Linked DNA regions of Homo sapiens: region 1 is linked to region 2. The links are contacts of gene promoters, found by promoter capture Hi-C in human tissues and cell types (Jung and others, 2019). All regions are on one chromosome and are shown on one strand. The core of a region is centred on a gene start or on the middle of the fragment in contact, and the rest is flanking DNA. Distances in the headings are between cores, read along the strand shown.

Region 1 (7,159 bases), core at 3,535-6,034, 290 kb after region 2:
TAGATGAAAGACTTAAATGGAAGAGCTAAAACTATAAAACTGAGAAGAAAACATAGGTATGCATCTATGTAACCTTGGATTAAGCACTTATTTCTTAGATATGACACCAAAAGCACAAGCAACAAAAGTAAATAAATAAACTTGAATGTTTCAAAAATTAAAAGCTTCTGTGCTTCAAAGGACACTATCAAGAAAGTGAAAAGACAACCCACAGAATGGGAGAAAATATTTGCAAATCATATATCTGATAAGGAACTATCTAGAATATATTAAAAACTCTTATGAGTCAACAATAAAAAGCCAACTCAATTTTTAAACGAACAAAGAGCTGAATAGGCATTTCTCCAAAGAAGATATATTAACAACCACATGAAAAGATGCTAAATATCACTCACCATCAGGGAAATGCAAATCAAAATCACAATGAGATAGCACTTCACACCCACTAGGATGGATATGATCAGACAGACAGACAATAGCAAGTGTTGGTGAGGATGTGGAGAAACCAGAACCTTCATACATTGCTGTGAGAGTGAAAAATGGTGTACCAGCTGTGAAAAAGTTTGGCAGTTCCTCATAAAGGTAACATAGAGTTACCATATGATCCAGCAATTCCTGGGTATATTTATACCCAGGAGAACAGAAATGTATGTTTACACAAAAACATGTACATGACTCCTCATGGTAGCATTATTCATAATAATCAAAAAGTGAAAACAATCCAAATGCCTATCAACTAATGAATGGATTCTTTAAATGTGGTATATCCAGGCATGGAATATTATTCAGTCTTAAAAAGGAATGAAGTAGAGACTCAGGCTACAATATGGGTGAATCTAGAAATATTACACTGGCCAGGCGTGGTAGCTAACACCTGTAATCGTAGCACTTTGGGATGCTGAAGCAGGAGGATTGCTTGAGCCCAAGAGTTCAAGGCTGCAGTGAGCTATGATCATACCACTGCACTCCAGCCTGAGCAACAGAGCAAGACCTTATTTCAAAAAAAGAAAATATTACACTAAGTGAAAGAAGCCAGACACGAAAGGTCATAAAGTATATATAATTCCATTTAATTCACGTCATTGCACTCCAGCCTGGGTGATAAGAGTGAAACTCTGTCTCAAAAAAGAAAAAAAAAAAGTTTCTAAAAAAATATGATATGGTTGCACACAAAAGAATATTCTATTATAAATTAATGTCACAGAAAAAGTCTGTTTTATTGCTTAGTAAAAAGAAGGTATATATGAAGTGCTTCATAATATTAAGTTATAAAATGATGAATAAATTAAAATAATTATCCCCCCAAAAGATAATTCTGTACATACATAAATATATCATACATTATATAATACCCCAGCAGCGATGGGGCCATTCCCTATAATCAAACATTAAATATTCACACTAAATGGGAAAAATAAAAGATTCAGTCAGTTCAGATGGGGTTTTGCATCCAAACTCCAAAAAACTGCTTTCAGTTTACAGAGCTATTTGAATTTTCAAATTTATGGATAAGGTATGGCAGACTTGTATTTGTTTTTTTCCTTCTTTCAGGATCTCGCTCCGTTACCCAAGCTGGAGTGCAGTGACACAATCATAGCACACTGTAGCCTCAAACTCCTGGGCTCAAACAATCTCTAGCTTCAGCCTCCCAAAATGCTGGGATTACAGCCATGAGCCATCATGCCATGCCAGACCTGTATTTCTTACCATGTCTGGGTAAGGTGCAAAATACAATCACTGCAGAGTTTGTGATACAATTGAGAATTTCTAAACTGTCCCTTGGAAATGTCAATTCTAGAAATATGCAAACAGTGTAATACAGCTAGTTCATTCTATAAGAGATAAGGAAAAAAAATGTCCTTCATTTTAAACAGAATCAGAACAGTATGGTATCACTAACAATACTCACAAAATTTAAGTAATAACTTGAAAAATACACGTTAAGCCAAAGCAAAATACAGAACTACAGAGATGGCTATAAATAAATATACTGATAGATACTTACATACTTACCCTATACTTTTAAAACATGGGAAAATATATATACAAAGGAATATTATTCAGCCTTAAAAAAGGAAATTCTGACACATGCTACAACATGTATGAACTCTGAGAACATTATGCCGAGTGAAATAAACCAGTCACAGAAGGGCAAATACTGTATGATTCCACTTAGTAGTCCAAGTCACAGAGAGAATAGAATGGCGGTGGCCAGGAGCTGGTGGGAGGGGGAAATAAGGAGTAAGTGTGTAATGGATACAGAGTTGCAGTTTGAGAAGATGAAAAGGTTCTGGAGATGGATAGCAGTGATGGTTGCACTACAATATGCATGTACTTAATGCCACTGAACTGTATACTTAAATATAGTCAAAAAGGTAAATCTTATATTATGAATATGTTATCACAATTTTTTTTAACTTGGAAGAAAATAGGAAAAAACACTAAAAGTAGTTGTTGGTGGAATTTGAGGGTATCTGGAAGGCCAGATCAATCAAATCTAGGAATTGTTTGGCTTCGATGCCTCTCCCTTTATTCTTACCATCTCTCTGGAACACTGAACACTGGGTCCAGGGCTACAAAAAGCTGCTCAGTGGTCTGCACTGCTGTTCCTGCTGGTGGTCTATTGTATCCTCTCAGGCAATGCAAAAAGCATGTTTTCACAGTCACACTAAACCTCAGAACACAAACTGTGCCCACACTCACCCAATTTAATACTCCAGAACATCACTCCTTACACAGATAAGGAATGGAAAGCAACTTATGTCAAGCCATTCTACAAACACTTGAAGAATTCTCGAATATCTCTCCAGTAGTCTATGAATGACCCAAATGAGGAAGAAAAAGACAACAACACATCAACTGAGGACCCGCTATCCACCAGGCAGTTAGTATGTAGGGTGCCCTGCACGCATCGGTTCTCACAATACCATGAGAAGGTAAGTATTGCTATCAATGTTTTACAAAGATGGAAACTGAGGTGCAAAGAAATGATGCATCTTGTTCCAGGTCACATTTCCAATAAGCACCGTAAGAAGCAACGCTCCAAAAGCCTTCCTTAGGAAGAATGATGATCTCTAACATTAAAGTGCAGGAAAAGAGCTTAAGTGTCACCAGAAGTAGAATTCAATGATTAGACAGACATAGAGTATACACAATCAACTCTGGCTGCATTTATGGGAGGCAGCATAGCCTAGTGGTCAAGATCATGGGCTTGGGAGCCCAACAGGTTGGGGTCAAATGTTTACTAACATTTTTAGATTTCAAGTCACATATAAGAGGATAGGAACAGTGTCTAACTCATTAGAGGTTTATCAGGATTAAATCAGATTACCACAGGTTAAAGGGTTTAGGAAGTACCTGACATAGTCAAAGCTCAATAAAGTACTAGCAGTAATATTTATTCTATGTTCTCGAAGCAACTCTAACAGGTAGGTATTCTGAGCACCATTTTTACTCATGGTAAGCCTTAATACTCATGGTAAGCCTTAAGTTCAGAAAGGTTAAATAAGTTGACAAAGATCATTCAGCTAGTAAAATGGTAAAACTAGAATTCAGGCCTGGATCAGCGGGATTCCAAAGAAAAACAAGATTATGGCATACAAAAAGAGGGTAAATTGAAAAGAAAGGCCTCTTCCCGCTCCTTCTCTCTGGCAACCCGCCCACCCCCACTACTAGACCAACCACCCCACCCCCCCGCCCCGATCTCTGTGGCTGGTGGGAAGCAGGCCAAGTGCCAAAGCCACAGTGGTCGCCAGGTCTCTGCTAGCAGCAGGGCTGGTGGGAGCCCTCTGGCTCCTTCTAGGCAAGAGCAGCAACCCTAACCCCTACTGCACAGGTCTGGGTGTGAGGACACCCAGGTTCCAGCAGGCACTGTCTCTAGGAACTGACCCTGTGACATGTACACACAACCATAAAAGACAGAATAACCAAGGCCTTCCAGACACTACTGTTCGAGATAGCACAAGTCATCCTGAGAGTGGAACAGTATGTTGTCAATACAAAGAATGAGGGGAAACTATTATAAAGTAATATGGACCCATCTCCAAAACACGCTCACAAATGAAAACTGATGATGTGTGTTGGCAGTGCGGGGAGTGTAAGGAGACTGAAACACAGAGACAGAAGGAAGGCATACTTTTCTCTGCATATCCTTTAACATTATTTAAGTTTTCTATCATGTACATATATAACCTAATCCAAAATGTAATACTTTTTTAAAATCCTGGATTGACCACCTTCTTACTACAGAATTTTTTTTTTTTTTTTGGATAGTTACTTAACCTGTCTGAGTCACCTTTTCTTCATTTATTTAAAAAACTAAAACCAAAACAAAACTCTTCTCCCAGATGTGCGGGGGCATTACACAAGATAATTTAATAGGCACTCAAACATGGAACTTGATTATCATTAGCTGTCGTCTATAAACTTAATCTGGGTACCTTGCCCCATCAAAGAAAACAAAAATAGGCCAGGCACAGTGGCTCATGCCTGTAATCCCGGCACTTTGGGAGCCCAAGGCAGGCGGATCACTTGAGGGCAGGAGCCAAGACCAGCCTGGCCAACATGGTGAAACCCCGTCTCTACTAAAAATACAAAAATTAGCCGGGCATGGTGGCACATGCCTGTAATCCCAGCTACTCAGGAGCCTGAGGTGGGAGAATCGCTTGAACCCGGGAGGCGGAGGTTCCAGTGAGCTGAGATCGTGCCATTGCACTCCAGCCTGAGCAATAGAGCGAGACTTCGTATCAAAAAACAAACAAACAAAAAGAAACAAAGAAAAACAAAAACAAAAACAAACATGGCTTGACAACATTAACCCTGTATTGCTCATGTTTCATTTCTTATTCCTCAGGACATTTCTGAAGTTAAAGAAACCCAGCCTCAGTGTGATGAGGACCGCCCCCCACCAGCCCAGGTGGGCTGTGCATAAGGATCAGACATACTGGGGGAGCAGTGATCCAACAAGAAAGACCTTTCAAAGGAGAGACACTTCAAAACTCCTTATCGCCGTCTCCACTAGCCAACGCCAAGTTCTACTTCCATTTTATATCACCGCTTCTCTTTTGTTTTTGTTGTGTTTCTAAATCTGGATCAGGATGGAGACTGGCAGTATCCCTTGAGAAAAGAGGACCATGGCTGAAAACACAAAAAAGTGTTCAGAATGCCCACTTGTGGGCCAAGCACATGTGATCTGCTTAGAAGAATGTCGGCATAGGCTGTAGGTCTTGATGGGAGGACAGTAAACAAACAGACAAACTCAGAATGCTCTCCACACACAGAAAAGGATTTGGGAATGGGAACAATGAAAGTTATTCTACCAAGTATTTTATCCTTCATCTGAAATAGAAAGGCTGTCCCACTGGATGGAAAAGATGGGGCCCCTTAGGAAACTGTGGCAGCTCTTTGCCAGGGAGCCAGCCACACACCCACTCACGCCCAGGCTGACTCCCTGCGTCACCTGCCAAAGGACATGGTCAGTCCCCATCCATGTCCTGAAGTGCCCCCTGAAGCAGCCAAGGCTAGATGCTTCTAAGGGACAAGGAGGCCCTGGCAAAAGGGCAACTTGCTACCCAGGAGTGATCTCTCAAATTTCCGAGGTCTCCAAACTCCTGAAATGAGGCAGATGGTCAAATCAAAGCTTTCAGAAGAAAAAGATCTCCACAATAAATACAGAAATAAAGGCCTTCAGGACTTCATTAGCCCCCTTTTTTTAAATTCATTTTTAAGTCACATCTGATTTTCAAAGACTATGCCTTCCTGCTGTACCACCAGGTTCCCTGTCTTCTGGAGTAAAGCAGCAATTCCCAGGCCTCAATGGCACACTAGCTCGCAGGTTCTGCTGGCTCTGGACCTGCTGCTCTGCTCCTTTCACAGGCCTGCCTGGTCCCATCGATGCAGGGCCTGGAGTCTCTTGCACTGAGTCAAGGGCAGAGGAAGCTGCAACTCAATGGCACTGCACATCTGTAATTCACTGCCTTTGGCTCCCTCCAGCTGTTGTTCCACACCATCCTCACAACTCTTTAAGGTCTTACATTCTTACTTTCCCCATTTTAAAGTCAAGGAAATTGTGTTAAGTAACCTCTTCTCCCCAAGACTGCACAGCCACTTGTGTGGCTGAGTGCCACACAATAAAAATACACCTCATGCCTCTGAATGCTGCCTGCCAGGTGGGAAAACAGGTGTAAGGGTTCTGGCTGTGTAGAAGAAGAAAAACGGTGTTGTCAAAGGAATAGCTGTTCCCCTGGCCAGGTCATTATGGTCAGGAAATCATACAGCAACTCGGATGGAGTGTGTCTAGATTCACAGAGCACATGAGAGGTTAACCATATATTGAAGTCCTTCGTAGTTTTGTCTTAAGTACTCGATCTGATGAGACAAAAACAACTTCATGTGTTTTGAGCAGTTCAGTGAATGATTTTTTCAAGAAAGAAAATTAAGTTTCCTCTCAATCTATGTTAACAAAATGGCAAAAAAAAACCAAAAACATGAGGAAGGAAATTGGGGTCTCCTCTATGCTAAGCATAATGCAAATAACAGATCAGAGATTTTAAATGCAATTATTCCCTCCTCTGTGTTTTAGTGGTTAAAACCTGGCAATTTGAGGTGGTCACTCACAAACATGAATCTCAAACAATGGAGTTTTTATCTACCTCCAAAAAAGTATGGATCTTGGAAAAAGAATTTTTTTTTTTACTCTGATAAGACAGTAATCTCCTACCTTGCTGACTCAAATGTACTTGCATATTAATTGCTTCAGACCCCAAAATCCCTGCTGAACTGGCTAAATTTTGGGCCAAATTCAATAATCCAGCAACCTCCCATTCAATACCTCACCAAGATAACTTTGCATGTTTAATTTAAAAGTACCGATCGCTTTTAAATGAAATGCTAACGCAAGCCCGTCTGCCGGCCCAAGCCACTACTGCATCTCTGAGGGACAAGCTGCAAGTTGGAGAGCTGACTAAAGTCTGAGCAGCCTTCGGACAACGAGGTAAACACAGCCTACCATCTCTCTCCTAAATGGTATCTGTTTCCCCAAATCAAACTTTTAAAACTTGCCCCTTTTGGTTCATTTCCCTGATATAGAGGCAATGAGATCTAGCCTCAGATACTCAAATATTATCTGCTCCAATTGTATCTGATTAGCAAGAAATACACA
Region 2 (6,648 bases), core at 1,124-3,623:
AGAGCTGAGATCGCCCTGGCACCACTGGGGAGGACGTGAGCTCACTGGCCCTTCTACGGTTGCGTAGCCCACCGCCTTCCCACCCCATGGGCCACCAATCTGCATGTAAGCCTGCCATGGGCCTGTCTGCCTACCATGGCTTCCACTGGCTCACCAGGCAGGCTGCCCTTTCATCTGTCTCTGCCCACCCATTATCGACACTGCCAGGATGCCAGCACACGCACACACAGCTCCTTCTCCATTCTGAGCTCCTCACAGTAACCCTGTGAGAGGGGACCATCATTACTTCCCTTTTACAGATGAGATGAGGACACTGGGGCACAGCCAGGTTATTGACTTCCCCAAGGACACATGGCTGGGGAGTGGCAGTGCTGGGGTTGGAACCCAGGCTGTGTCACCTGACAGGCTGAGCTCTTCCCCACTGTGGGATCTGCCCCTTGGCCCGTCTGTCTGTCCATCCGCCCATCCACTCTGTGACTGCCCACCGTTCAGCCCCTTCATTCGCCTGCCACTCTGTCCATCCAGCCGCCCGTCCATCCATCCATCGCTGTCGCCCATCCATCCTGGAGCTAATGCAGTTAGAGGACCAGGGGCCCTGAGGGGAGAGAAGGCCCCAAACTGCCCATCTGGCCGGGCCAGGGTGGCCGGGGGTGGGGTGGGCTGCCCAGGCCAGGCAGGCCTGCAGGGGGCTGGAGGGAATTAGCTGAGTGACTGCCAGGATCATCTAATTAGGAACTCTAGTGATAAGCAGATAGGATCGGGGGTGATTAGAATCCTTTTAAAAAGCCACTCCATTAATTACAGAGACAGAGAGGGGCCTCTGGCTGCTCCGAATACCAATTGGCTGCTTAATCGGCTCCATCAGCTCGCCCGGGGGAGACCTTCCTGGTACTGCTGTGTGACCTTCGGTGTGCCCTGCCCTCTCTGGGCCTCGCTTGGTCGCTGAAGGTCCTTCTCTCCCTGGCCATGGCTCGGGGTTGGCTTTAGGGTGGGCCTGAGATGAGGGACATGGGACATCTGAGGCCAGGAAGCCTAGGCTGGCTCCCCAGAGAGGGCAAATCCCCAAAAGCACCCACTGGTGAATGAGGACAGAGAGGCTTGAAGAGGGGAGGTGGCCTGACAGAATTGACGGTGGAGCGTGTGGGGCCTAAGTGTGCGCTCATGCCTGTGTGTCCCTGTCCCTCCAGCAGGCCCTATGGAGGCCTCAGAGCCCCTGATGCTCCCCACTGGCTCCCCAAAAACTGGCGTGGAAGGAGACTAGCCTGAACCCTTTGCAGAAGGGAAACTCCTCTGCACACTGCCCGGCTCCACGGTCCACAGCTCCCTTCATGGGGAGCTCCCCACAGGGGCCTCCATCTCAGGATGCCCTTGATGGTGAGGTGTGGGACCTGCTCCCAGGTGACACACCTGTTCCCGTAAGTCCTACCGAGTGGTCTGTTCTGTGTGCCCTAAGACAGCCCTGAATGGGCGGCAGTGAGGGGGTCTCCAGCCCTGTCTCCATCCTGGCTGACTCCCACAGACCCATCCCAGGAACAAGGGTTGGAGCAGGGCAGTGGCTGGAAGAAATTTCCCCTGGGAGTACAACGCAGACCAGAGCCAGGGTCTCCAACAAGGCAGGGAGGGCCAGGACGGGGAGGCGGCCACAGGATTCTTGGATGCCTCATCATACTAGGTCCTTTGTCTCTTAACATTGTTTTCACCACCCCTCCTCCACTGTCCTGATTCCATCGTCATGGAAACTTCAGGCTTCACCTTTACAATGTCAGGCCACCAACACCCTCAGCAGTGTCACCATCACCATCAACACCCCAGCGTCCCATCCCCATCTCCTCTACCACTGCCACCAGCCCCACTATCACTATCATCTCTGTCACCGTCACCACGGTGCTCTCCACCCGTGTCAGCATTGTGTCACCACCACATCACTGTCACCACACTTCCTCCACCTCCATCTCCACCCACCATCCCATCTGTGACATCACCTTATCAGCTCTGCCACCAGTATCAACCACTCACACCGCCTTTGCCATCACCACCGTCATTGCCCCCTCTACTACCACCACCATCACCACCACCGGGTCTGCCTCAGCCAGACCCACCACTGCCTCTAATTAGACTGCCACCATCATCACTGCCACCACCACTGCCCCTCCAATGCCTTCCTGATGTCACCATCTGCTTTCTCTCTGCTATCCTCACACCCAACTCCATCACAACCACCACCTTCATCTGAGCCGCCATCACCCTCACAGTACACAGCCCTCAAATGTGTACCAAGGAGGAGGACATTTACTACACGCTGCACCCTGAACAGTCTGGGACCAGCGGTCAGGGAACAAGGAATCGAGATGCTCACCTGCAGCTCCCAGGTGAGCGGCTCTCTAGAGCTTGCCTGGGAGCTGCTGAGGAGCTCACGGTATTCCAGGAAGCTCCCCATCCATGCCTCAGCCTGTGGCTCAGAAGCAGGGTCTTCGCAGAAGATTGCCCCGAGCTGTTGCAAAGCTCACCATTGTCACCTGCCTGCAACGGCCTCTCTTTTCCACTCTCCAAATCCCTTGTATTGGCAGGCTCTAGTCTGGAATTATACCGGTGATGGGATTCTGGAAAATCCCTCAGATTTCTCCAGGATGCAAGGAGACCATGGAAGAGGTTGGTGTAATGCCAAGTTAGCAACAGAAAATACAGAGCCCCACACCTCAGTGCCATCACCATCGCCATCGGCACTCACACCAGCATGTCCACCACTGTGTCCTTCTCACCCCTCGGCACCCCCCTCTACCATTGCCTCTTCCACAACCACCCTCACCACCATCCTCCATTAATAGCACAATTCCTGCCTCCTATCCCATCACCACCACGGGTGTCCCCGGCACCAGCAGCACCAACACTGCTCCCAGCAGAGCCATCGTTACCAGCCCCGCTGTCAGTCCCATCTTGAGCATCTGGCATATGTTGGAGAACTGCTCACTCCCTCTTCCCCATGGGAATCTCAGGCCTCTCTTCCTATTGCCCTGAGATTTGCAGAACCTTCCTGAAGGAAACATTCTTTGCCCCATGGATACTGGCCTTGACCATGGGATGCAGCAAGACTGCCACACATCATGGCCCAACAGAAGCTTTCAGAGGCAGCCCAAGTTCCTGCTGTCTCTGAGTGGCACTGTCATGAGAGAGGGGTGTGCAGGTCAGAGCTGATTCTCCAGCCTGGGACCCACAGTGAGAAGCTATGGGAGGTGGGGCCCTGGCAGCTGCCTGTAGGCACCAGTGAGTGAAGTGGGGGGAACTAGATGTTTGTCGTGAGCCACTGAGAGGTGGAAGCTGTCACTGTGGTATAGCCGAACAAGATACAACCTCTGCTACCTCCACCACCTTCACCTTCATCATCACCATTACTGTCACCACTGCCAACCACACCAATGGCTCACTAGGAGCCATTCCCATCACCTCCTCATCATACCTGCACCATCACTGCCAACCACAACAAAGGCTCGCTGTTACCATCTCCTCTGGCATGACCATCACCACCACCACTACCATCATCAATTACTCTCAAGCACAAGCCTTGCTGCTGTCACCACCAGCATCACCATCATCATGATCAACTCCACCATCACCCATAATTACTCTCCCCCTCACACCCACCATGACCATTACCTCCACATCAACACTGCTCCCATGGTCACCTCTACTATATAATGACACCTTATCCATCTCCATGGACACCCACCGTGCCTCTCCCCACCAGCAACACAGTCAACAGCAGTGCCTCTCCCACTGCCACCGCCATCATGGAGAACTGTGCAGGGCAAGCATCTTTCTCCCGCCCCAGGAACAAGCCTGCAAGGGACAGCAGGTGCTAACTGCTAACCGAGACATAGTGACAAAAATCCAGCCACAGAGATAAAGAATCAGGTTCATCTGTAGCTACATCCAGTGGAGAAGTTCTGCTCTTCAACTCCTCTGCTAAGCCACATGTGTCAGCAGGTGTAGGTGGGTGGATGCCCAGCATGGGGGTGCGAGTCGTGCTTTTGATAAGCTGCATGGAGGGACAGCGATGGTCACTGGAGGCTGGGTTTACAAAGTGTCTCTACAGTCTGTCTCCATTCCTCCTGGCATTTGGGATTGGTTAGAACACACACTGTCCCCTGCTAGGAGCCTGAAACCTAGCACCCATGAGCACTGAAAGAAAAGAGAGAGAGGGAGGATAATAGAAAGGGATGAAGACTAGAAAAAGGAAGAGGAGGAAGAAGGGAGGAATGAAGGAAGGAAGGAGGAAGGAAAGAAGCCAGGAGTGAAGAAGGGAGGGAAGGGAGAAGGGGGAAGGGGAGGGAGGAAGGAAAGAAAGAAGGAAGGAAGGAGAAAGGGAGGAAGGAAGGAAGGAAGGAAGGAGGAAATGAAGGAAGGAGGGGGAAGGGAGGGAGGGAGGAGGGAAGGAAGGCAGGGAACGGAAGGGAAGGGAAGGGAAAGAAGGAGGGAAGGAGGGAGGGAGGAAGGGAGGAAGGAAAGAAGGCAGGCAGGAAGGCTATCTTTAGTTAAGACTTGGTGACCCAAACATCTAGGCTCTTTATTGGTGTGGTTAGTAGGTGGTTTAGCATGGTTTTGATCTTAATTGGAGTGGGGTGAGGTGAAGGTAGGAACAGATATTAATCAGTATTGTGAATTGCTGTTTCTATATATGATCCAACACCAGAACAAGAATTAAAGGAATATAAATGCCTAAGAATATTTGGTTACCTCACTCACCTGATTCGTTTTCTAGGGCTGTTACAAATTATTACAAACTGGGTAGCTCAATACAAAAGAAATCTCTTCCCCCAGTTCTGGAGGCCAGAGGTCTGAAATCGAGGTGTTAGTGGGGCCGCACTCCCTCTGGAGGCTGCAGGGAGAACCCTCCTGGCCCCCAGCTTCCAGCTGCGTCAGTGTCCATCTCCTATACGGACATGTGTCACTGGATTTAGGGCCCACTCAGATAATCCAGGATGATCTCATCTCGACATCCTTAATTTAATTACATCCGAAAAGATCCTTTTTCCAAATAAGCTCACATTCAGAGGTTCCAAGGATTAGGATAGGAACATATCTTTTTGGGGGCCACCATTCAACCCACTACAGTCAGTAATCAATATTTATCATCAATTCCTATTTTTCTTACCAGAATTGAGTGGAACACTTCTTTGGATTTGCTGTCCGCTGCAGCCTTGGCCCTGGTTTCACATCCCCTCCCTCACTGACTCGCTGTGTGACCTTGAGCACTGTGTGTCTCTGAGCCTGGTTCATCCAAGAGTTTACCGACGGCCCTCGTGTGCCAGCCACTGTCCTAGACAGGGACAGACTTTCCCGCCTTTGTGGAGCTTACCCCGGAAGACCTGGCCAGATAATGGGCACAAAAAAAGCAGGCTCTTGTCCCCACCCCAGCCTGCCTGAACCCCACCTTGGCCTCCTCTTGCCTCAGCTGCTGCCCAGCCATCGGCCGAGTGGACATACCCAGGACGCCCTTGCCCGCCTCCCCCACCACGGCCACAGACCTTTGTCACTCACCAAGGCTGGAATCCCGTGGCTGATCCTGCCTCTGCCCTTTGGCTCCCGGGACTCAGCCCACACCACCTGGGTCACAGAGCATCCCATTCCCACACACCGTTGTGGCCACCTCACCAGCAGGGGCAGGCCCATATGCCCAGGTTTGCCTGGTGAGGAGCTGGGGGCGGGGGTATGCCCCGCCCCGGGAGCTGACGTCATAAAAGGAGCTCTGGAGGGCAGCCCACTCTGGCCTGGCCCCACAGCGGCAGTGTCCCTCCCCTCCCCCCACTCCTCTCAGTGGGGGCCCCTCCAGTCCCTGAGAATTGGTACTACGAAAAGGTGAACTCCTGGGCAGAATCTTGCCTAGAGCTTGCGGAGTCCAGCCAGGCCCCTGCTGAAGGGCCCCAGACCACCGGCCACTTCTCCCCCGTCCATCTGACCAGCTGGGCCCCTGCGCCCACCTGGCCTCCACGTTCCCTCTCCTCTCACCCACACCCCTGGCCATGGCTAACTACTACGAAGTGCTGGGCGTGCAGGCCAGCGCTTCCCCGGAGGACATCAAGAAAGCCTACCGCAAGCTGGCCCTTCGTTGGCACCCCGACAAGAACCCTGACAATAAGGAGGAGGCGGAGAAGAAGTTCAAGCTGGTGTCTGAGGCCTATGAGGTTCTGTCTGACTCCAAGAAACGCTCCCTGTATGACCGTGCTGGCTGTGACAGCTGGCGGGCTGGTGGCGGGGCCAGCACGCCCTACCACAGCCCCTTCGACACCGGCTACACCTTCCGTAACCCTGAGGACATCTTCCGGGAGTTTTTTGGTGGCCTGGACCCTTTCTCCTTTGAGTTCTGGGACAGCCCATTCAATAGTGACCGTGGTGGCCGGGGCCATGGCCTGAGGGGGGCCTTCTCGGCAGGCTTTGGAGAATTTCCGGCCTTCATGGAGGCCTTCTCATCCTTCAACATGCTGGGCTGCAGCGGGGGCAGCCACACCACCTTCTCATCCACCTCCTTCGGGGGCTCCAGTTCTGGCAGCTCGGGGTTCAAGTCGGTGATGTCGTCCACCGAGATGATCAATGGCCACAAGGTCACCACCAAGCGCATCGTGGAGAACGGGCAGGAGCGCGTGGAGGTGGAGG

The links. The method cuts DNA at HindIII sites, captures the fragments that hold promoters and counts their contacts. A contact is called where the count stands out against the background at its distance.
Region 1: a contact is called between a fragment that was not itself captured here and the fragment with the promoter of DNAJB8 in region 2, in 2 of the 25 tissues and cell types used here (dorsolateral prefrontal cortex and stomach).

What each region holds. Positions count from the first base shown.
Region 1 is chr3:128,179,420-128,186,578 of GRCh38, reverse strand. All of the region lies in intron 1 of EEFSEC (eukaryotic elongation factor, selenocysteine-tRNA specific), which reads right to left. Among named protein-coding and RNA genes, the nearest start is that of EEFSEC, 30 kb to the right of the region's middle. The HindIII fragment of the contact is 3,766 bases long and covers 2,902-6,667 here.
Region 2 is chr3:128,462,615-128,469,262 of GRCh38, reverse strand. It overlaps DNAJB8 (DnaJ heat shock protein family (Hsp40) member B8), which reads left to right and starts at 2,373. Exons shown (of 3, transcript NM_153330.6): 1 at 2,373-2,649; 2 at 3,827-3,987; 3 at 5,153-6,648. The coding sequence starts at 6,018. It overlaps DNAJB8-AS1 (DNAJB8 antisense RNA 1), which reads right to left and starts at 5,669. Exons shown (of 3, transcript NR_037890.1): 1 at 5,536-5,669; 2 at 5,150-5,363. The HindIII fragment of the contact is 25,608 bases long and covers 1-6,648 here.